2 separate regions of the Homo sapiens genome follow, and region 1 is linked to region 2. Evidence: promoter capture Hi-C in human tissues and cell types (Jung and others, 2019). All regions are on one chromosome and are shown on one strand. The core of a region is centred on a gene start or on the middle of the fragment in contact, and the rest is flanking DNA. Distances in the headings are between cores, read along the strand shown. Region 1 overlaps MYOF (myoferlin). Region 2 holds the start of CYP26C1 (cytochrome P450 family 26 subfamily C member 1).

Region 1 (3,753 bases), core at 236-2,735, 380 kb before region 2:
AACCCCCGTCTCTACTAAAAATACAAATATTAGCTGCGTGTGGTGGCAAGCGCCTGTAATCCCAGCTACTCGGGAGGCTGAGGTAGGAGAATCGCTTGAATGCAGAAGGCAGAGGTTGCAGTGAGCCGAGACCGTGCCATTGCACTCCGGCCTGGGTGACAGAGTGAGACTCTGTCTCAAAAAAAAAAAAAAAAAAAAGATACAAAAATTAGCCAGGCATGGTGGCGGGCACCTGTAATCCCAGCTACTCCAGAGACTGAGGCAGGAGAATCGCTTGAATTCAAGAGGTGGAGCTTGCAATGAGCTGAGATTGCACCACTGCACTCCAGCCTGGGCAACGGCGTGAGACTCCGTCTCCAAAAAAAAAAAGAAATGTACTAACTCCCTAGCTTGTTTTAAATTAGAAAAAACAAAAGACTGCGTTTGGAATAAAATTAATTTGGTAGGGCAAAGTGTGGTATTGCTTATAAGACGTTTTTCATTCCCTAGTATATGAAATACCTTGTCTTTAAGCTTTTATTACTTTTATTTCTCCTAGTTATAAAGCTCATTTCTGACCTTGCCCCATGTAAATGTGACAGTGGGAGAAGGTGGTCTTTCTTCTCCTGGGGTTGGTTGGTGAGGAAGGATAGGATAGCCCATGGATTGAAACAGGTTCTTCTCACTGGAGTAGCTTCTCAGGCTGTACAAAAATCTAAACTAGAAGCAGATGTTACTGTGGGGCAGAACTCTCAGTTCTGATTTCTTTTTAGTTCTGTATTAGAGCAATGACACTGAAATGATCTGAGCTGGTTTGGGCTGGCTGTCTCTATACGGGGAGAGGCTGAACTGCACTTTTTGGAAGGCAGATTAAGTAGCTGCTGCAATCCTGTTGGTATCTGTTAAGATCTTGTGATTAAATAAGATTGGGCCACAGCCCTGGAGAAAGATACCCAGAGAGGCTGAAAGAGAAAGGCATCTCATAAAGGCAAGAGCTGTAATTATCTTCTGATGGCTCTTTGGCGGGTGATCTCTTAGGACAGGAAGATTTACAACCTGTAAATAATTTGCAAGGTCATTGGACTATCTTCAATGATGTATCAGCTAATTTATTCATGCCACAAATATTTACTAATGCCTACTATGTGTCAGACACAGCTCTAGACACTGGGGGTACTCCATACCTTTTATGGAGCTAACATCTGAGTAGAGGGAACAGATAAATACACATATGACATAACAGATGGTGATAAGTGATACGAAGAAAATAAAGGAAGGTAAAGGAGAGAAAACAGCAGGGTGAGGTCTGAGTGGGTGCTGGTTTAGATAGGGTTGTTGTATAAGGGTTTGTTTTGGGGGTTTTTTTTTTCGAGACGGAGTCTTGCTCTGTCGACAGGCTGGAGTGCAGTGGCACAATCCCGGCTCACTGCAACCTCTGCCTCCCGGGTTCAAGTGATTCTTCTGCCCCAGCCTCCCGAGTAGCTAGGACTACAGGCGCCCGCCACCACGCCCGACTAATTTTTTTATTTTTAGTAGAAATGGGGTTTCACCATATTGGCCAGGATGGTCTTGATCTCTTGACCTCGTGATCCACCTGCCTCGGCCTCACAAAGTGCTGGGATTACAGGCATGAGCCACTGCACCCAGCCTGGGGAATCTTTTATAATGGGTTATGAAGTTTACAGACTTCATTCAGATTCCACTAAATTGGATTTTATGAGAATTCAGCTGCAGCTGACATTTACCTCTGGTCTAACTCTGAAAAGAAAAATTGTTTCCCAAAAGGATTTGTGGTATATGTAGTATTAAGGGTGGGGAAGGGCTATTTAATGTAGGTAAGATAAAGAACTGGTTTTAAGAACTTTACATAGTGATTACATAGAAATGGATGTGGGTAGTTACAAAGGGTTCTTATCTATTCATTCATGCCCACCTGCCCAGCCCCCTGCTGATTCAGACCAGCTTTCACTGCCAAGTACTAGCCAGGAGCCCTGTCTTCATATGCTTTTTATACATCTCTTTTTCTAGCATAGTGTCTGAAATAATAATACAAGGTGACTGTTAAGCACTTGCCATATCATCCTTTTAATCCCTGCAACAATACCATTAAGTAGGAGCTGTCATTATCCCCATTTTATAGATGAGGAAACTGAAGCTCGGAGAAGTTAACCTGTACGCAGCCTGAGTCTGAATTAGTCAGGCCTGCCTGCCTCCACGTTCCTAGTCATCAGGCAAAGCTGTCCCTCCTTATCTTACAAGGTTCAAGTTCATGAAAGAGTGAATAAATGGATGGATGAAAAAACTACTACTTTGATTCTAACGGTTGAGGGAATTAACTGGAGACAGAGCATCGGAACTCCACTGAACCATCAGAGCAGGCAGGCAGGCAGGCAGGCACAGAATTGGTCAGGTGAAAATAACAAAATAGCAGGTGACCATTTCTTCAAGAAATAATATTCAGCATCTCCTCCATGCCAGAGGAGTTAGCCTGCTCCTCGCAGCCACAGACTCTGGCCTCAATGCCTCACTGACCCGGAGGGCTTTGGTGAGGAGACCTGGGCTTCCACTCAGCCCTTTGCAGGTGTTACCTGCAAAGGTAACAGTGATACCATAGTGGCCAGAGTTGCAGAGGTGGGAGGGGCTGGGAAAAAGAGCACAGTAGATGCTGGCCACGAAAATCGTGCAAATCCTGCCACAGCCTTCAGGCTATGTCAGTGATTCCAAAACCAGGGCGTGGAGTGAGCTAAAAGTAGAGGCGAGACTTGTGCCAGCCAGGTTTGGGAATCACGGTTGAGGATCAGTGTTTCTACCTTTTAAAAAGCCACACCCCCTTTCGATGAGCAGGAAAAGAGCCGCAAGGTTCTCTGGCAGTCCTGGCCTGGAGTCAGGAGCGGAAGTTCCTGGGGGGAGCGCAGGTCACTAGGCCTTCCTAGGAGGTTTTCATGGAGTTTGCCTGCTACAGTTTGTTCTATTAAATAATTGGACTTCGATGCGTGGTTCTCAAACGTGAGCCTGGATTCCCATGCTGAATGTTTTCAAAACCACTCAAGCCCCCCTCTCCCCAGATCCCGCGTTGCCTTCTGCCTTCCCTATCCCTAGCCCTCTACCTCCTCCACTTTACTCCCACAGCCATTGGGAGTCACTGTCTAGACCATTGTTTCTCGGACTTCCTGGGTATTAAGAATTACCGAAAGGAAAAAGTCGGACTCAGGGATCTGGGAATCTGCAGACGCCCTGGTGAGGGACGTCTGGGGAAGCACATTCTGAGAAATGTTTTGGGAGACGATGCGGAGGCCGAGTGAGGGTGGGCGGGCAAGTGCAAGTGGAGGGGTGAACCGAGGCGCAGCCCTTTGCGGGGATTTTACCTTAGCAATAGTTTCCTGTGATACGAGCTGCTGCCATGGGCGTGTTGAGAAAGAATTATTCAGTGACACCTGGTACAGTATGGGCAGGAAGGCTTCATTCAGGACTGAGTTAGCTCAAGTGACCCCTGCAACGGAGACTCGTGGGAAGGAAGAGAGATGGGGTGCCACTCAGATACAGCATGGGCAAGTAGGAATTGATAGCCAAGGAGGAGTGTGGGGGGTCAGTGGATGGAAAATTCCTAAGAGGAAATGTCACAGTCAGGGGGATTCTGGCTAACCCAACCTAACAGGATTCTTGCTGAGGACATCACGTGGGGGATGGCAGAGAATGAGAAACCCGATCAGATATGGAGGGTGATCAGATCTCACGGATGGGGGTTGTTTGCTAAACTGACCGAGTAGGATTCTC
Region 2 (3,677 bases), core at 896-3,395:
CGAGCTGCTCGAAGGTCCGGGCCAGCGTGGCGCACTGCGCCTCGTCCAGCCGCAACCCCAGCAGGATGCGCGCGGCCATGCGGAAGGTGAGCGCTTTGGAGGCGTCGTAGACTGAGACCGGCCCGCCCGCCGCGCACCAGGAGCGCACCTCATGCCGCAGCGCCCCCTGCAGGCGCGGCACGTAGCGCTCCAGCGCGGCGCGGCTGAACACGCGCGCCAGGACCTGTGGGAGCGCGCGTGATCAGCGCTGGCGGCGGTCTGGCCTCATCTGCTTGGCGATTCCGGAGTAGCCAGAAGGCCAGTTCCGGTCCTTTCTCCCTCTTCCAAGCGGCCCAGACCTAAACTTCCTGGCTTTTGCTTTCGCCATTTCCCCCAGTTCTGCTCTGATGCACACAGTCCCTCCCAACCATCCAGGCTCCAGCTGCCATCTCCTCTAAGAAGTCTTCCCTGGCCCCTTTCTAGGTCTGAGTCTCCAGCGCTTCTGCTATCACAGCCACGGAAGATGGGAGATGAAAGAATCTTTTAGCGCAGTCCTAACTTTATAAACCGAAGCTGAAGGTAACGGACCCGCCCAAGGCCACCCGCTAGTTACCAGGGACCTTGGTCGGGTTCACAGTGTATCCAACACCGGGGCCCCGGCCTGGCCCATGGCAGATGCCGGGGACCGCGGATCCGACGTATCTACGGTCCATTCCCGTTTCCACTCACCTTGCGCCGCCGCCGGTGCGGCTCGCCGACCGCACCTAGCAGTGTGTGCGAGCCCAGCAGGATGTGCGCACTCTGCGGCCACTGGCTGCGCACCAGGCGGTGCTCGCCCAGCAGGATGGTGCGCACGTTCTCCGCGCCGCTCACGCGGATCACTGGCCTGCCCAGCAGGTGCGTCTTGAACACTGTCCCATAGCGCTCTCGGCGAGAACTGTGGAAGCGCGAGCCCTGCGGGCGAGGCGGAGGGTGGAGAGCTGGAACTTCTGGGCCTGGGCTGGGATCTGACCCAGACCTTCCAGCTGCCTTTTGATCACAACTTCCTGTCCCTGGCTGGCGCGTTTACAAAACAAGATCCCCAGTGGGCCTGGTATCTACTCTACGGGAATGTACATGCTCCTGTTCCTATTGGTGAGATGAGGAAACAGACTCAGAGTGAAGAAGTGAGGGCCCAAGGGCTCACAGCTGGGCCAAGCTCCAGGCTCCTTTTCTACCCTTGCAGGACGTGCTCCTCAGACCCCTTCCTAAAACCCCTTATGTTTACCCCCTGCGTTGTGTCTGGGAGTTGCTCTGGGGGGAATTCCAGTGACTTGAGGTCCCTTCGAGGGAACGGAGTATCTAGGTAAAGGCGAGAGTTGTGCGCGCTTCCCGGGGTCGTGGGCGATGGGCAGGGACTGGCTACAAATCCCATGGGCATTGAGACTGAGGAGGGTCCAGTGGGAGCCGGGGGAAGAAGGGACCGTATTAGCGCTCGGGGTCGAAGGACTGCTCACCTGAACTAACCAGTGCAGCGTTTCGCCGAAGAAGGGCCACCCCATGGAGCCCTTGGGCAGAGGCAGGGTGGAGGCCCGGTCCCGGCTCAGCATCCAGCGGAGGGTCCAGAGGTGCTGGGCCAGGCTGAGCAGCAGGCCCGCGCACAGGAGAGCAGTGCCCGCCGCCCCCAGCACTGACAGGCAGCTCAGCCCCCAAGGGAACATGATGAGCCCGCGGGGGCCAGGCCGCTCAGAGCGCAGGGAGAGCAGGGGACGCAAGAACCGGGGCGCGAGCAGTGCGCAGTGCTCACCTGTTCCGTCCGCAAAAGGCCTGGGGTTTGGGGGCAAAGCCCGAGATTTATAAGCTCAGGCCAGAACTCTGTTCTAAAAACAGACGGACGGTGAAAGACTGCAGTGACCGTGCGCCCTTAGGGAACGTGCCTTCCTCGAGGCCGGCACGCTCAGGACTTTTTCCTGGCTCCTGGGCCCAAATGCCAGTCCCTCTCGAAGGTGCCTGCTGCCTCGGGAACGCTCACTCCCGGCTCCGCGGGGCACCTCCCACCTCCTCCCGGGCTCAGCACCCTTTGGATAGAAGAAGGGAAGGAGGGCGAAAGAAGAGCAACTCACCAGTGTTGCCAACCTGGTCTGCAGACCCCCGCCCCACCTGTCCCTCCTCCAGTCGTTTAACCCTTCTTGGCCCACGCTGGACACGTTTATATAGATATTGGCTCCCCCCCTACGGACCGATCCCGGTTCACACAACGTGACGTGTCTTTGCATATTTAAAGCGCTCCACGCAGAGTGGTGATTGGAGGCGGTGGGCAGCGGCGCGCTCACGGAGGGGCTCTGAGTAGGGAGTGGCAGGCGCCGGGGCGGCTCGAGCTGGGCTGGGGGCTCGCCCCGCGAGCGTCCTCGGGCGGGGCCTGCGGGTTCGCGCCAGAGCTTCCCCGCTCTTCGCAGGCGCTCAGAAAGTGGGCGAACCCAACGCGCAGAACTGACCCGGGCTTGCGCCCCGCAGTGCTCCTGGCCCACCCCCGGCCGCTGGCTCCCTCTGCCGTCCCCGCCCTCGAGCTTCTAGGTGCCTTTCTCTCGCCACTCCAAGGTGAAAGAACTGGGCTTTTCTCTCCTTTGCTCCGACTATTTCAGGGAAACTGCAGTCGTCGACGCCTGCGTTGGCATCGCAAAAGCCCAGGAGGGATAGCGCAGCCGAGATTCTCCGACAGCTCCCCACCTCTCCCGGCTCTCTGATCTACCACGTCAGGTATCCTTCCAAAGATGGCAGTTCCACTACTGCCCTAGGCTTCATAAAGACGTCCTAAGCCTCCAGAAGCGGATACCCACGAGCACCTTTCCGGTCTCAAGGACCGAATTCATCCTTCCCTGCACATCCTTCCCTCCCTCCCCCGAGTTTGCCCGACGACTCTTGTCAATCTACATTGTTGCGTTTTGGGCTTTGTGCGTCCCATTCAAGGGTTCCAAATGCCTCAGGACTCACTCGTTCTTGTCCCTACAGTGCAACCTGGGGTGTGTGTGGAGGGGTGCAGGGTGTTTATATTATTGGTAAGAGTAAAGAGGTCCCACAGTGGTCTCCTCCAGGCAGTGCAAAGGCAGTATCTCTCTGAATCCCGGGACGTCTCAGCCAAAGCAGGGAAGACACCCCAAGTACGCTGGAAGGCTGGGTAAGGCGCGAAGGGCAGCCCCATTCCAGTCTTCAAAGAGAGCTAGCTGTTCACCGCTCCTCTCCTCCAGATTTCACCGTGCCTGAAGAACTACCATGCTTTTCATGTAATATTTTTAAAAACATTAAATACTTTGGATTAAGAGATGATCGAGAGAACAAGTGCGCATATGTATATATATGTGTGTGTGTGTGTGTGTGTATGTATATATACTGTTTTGGTGCCACTCCCATTCCAGTAACTAGGAAATAATATGCCTTTTCTCCAGGAAGCACTTGTTTTAAATCAGTAAGCTCTGAATAGACAAAATAGTAATGCATTTTCAACAACTTGCTCAATATTTTTAATATTTCATCACAAAATCCAGAGATGTACATATAATTCTTTACACTTATTTTACAGAATCAGGCATAGTTTCTTACAGGCCTAAATCCTGAAAAGGCAAAGGGAAGATTCAGCATAAATACAACAAAGGGAGAATAAAGACTGGATTTATATTGCCATTTGGACCACGGAAACATACACAAAGGAAAATGTACATTTG

Evidence for each region. The method cuts DNA at HindIII sites, captures the fragments that hold promoters and counts their contacts. A contact is called where the count stands out against the background at its distance.
Region 1: a contact is called between a fragment that was not itself captured here and the fragment with the promoter of CYP26C1 in region 2, in 2 of the 25 tissues and cell types used here (mesendoderm cells and thymus).

What each region holds. Positions count from the first base shown.
Region 1 is chr10:93,438,007-93,441,759 of GRCh38, reverse strand. The region is part of intron 3 of MYOF (myoferlin); the gene reads left to right. Among named protein-coding and RNA genes, the nearest start is that of MYOF, 42 kb to the left of the region's middle. RefSeq lists an enhancer at 3,657-3,753. The HindIII fragment of the contact is 8,673 bases long and covers 1-3,753 here.
Region 2 is chr10:93,059,266-93,062,942 of GRCh38, reverse strand. CYP26C1 (cytochrome P450 family 26 subfamily C member 1) reads right to left here and starts at 2,145. Exons shown (of 6, transcript NM_183374.3): 1 at 1,476-2,145; 2 at 709-933; 3 at 1-223. The coding sequence starts at 1,679. It overlaps EXOC6 (exocyst complex component 6), which reads right to left. Exons shown (of 22, transcript NM_019053.6): 22 at 3,453-3,677. RefSeq lists enhancers at 1-134, 145-264, 1,218-2,127. The HindIII fragment of the contact is 7,111 bases long and covers 1-3,677 here.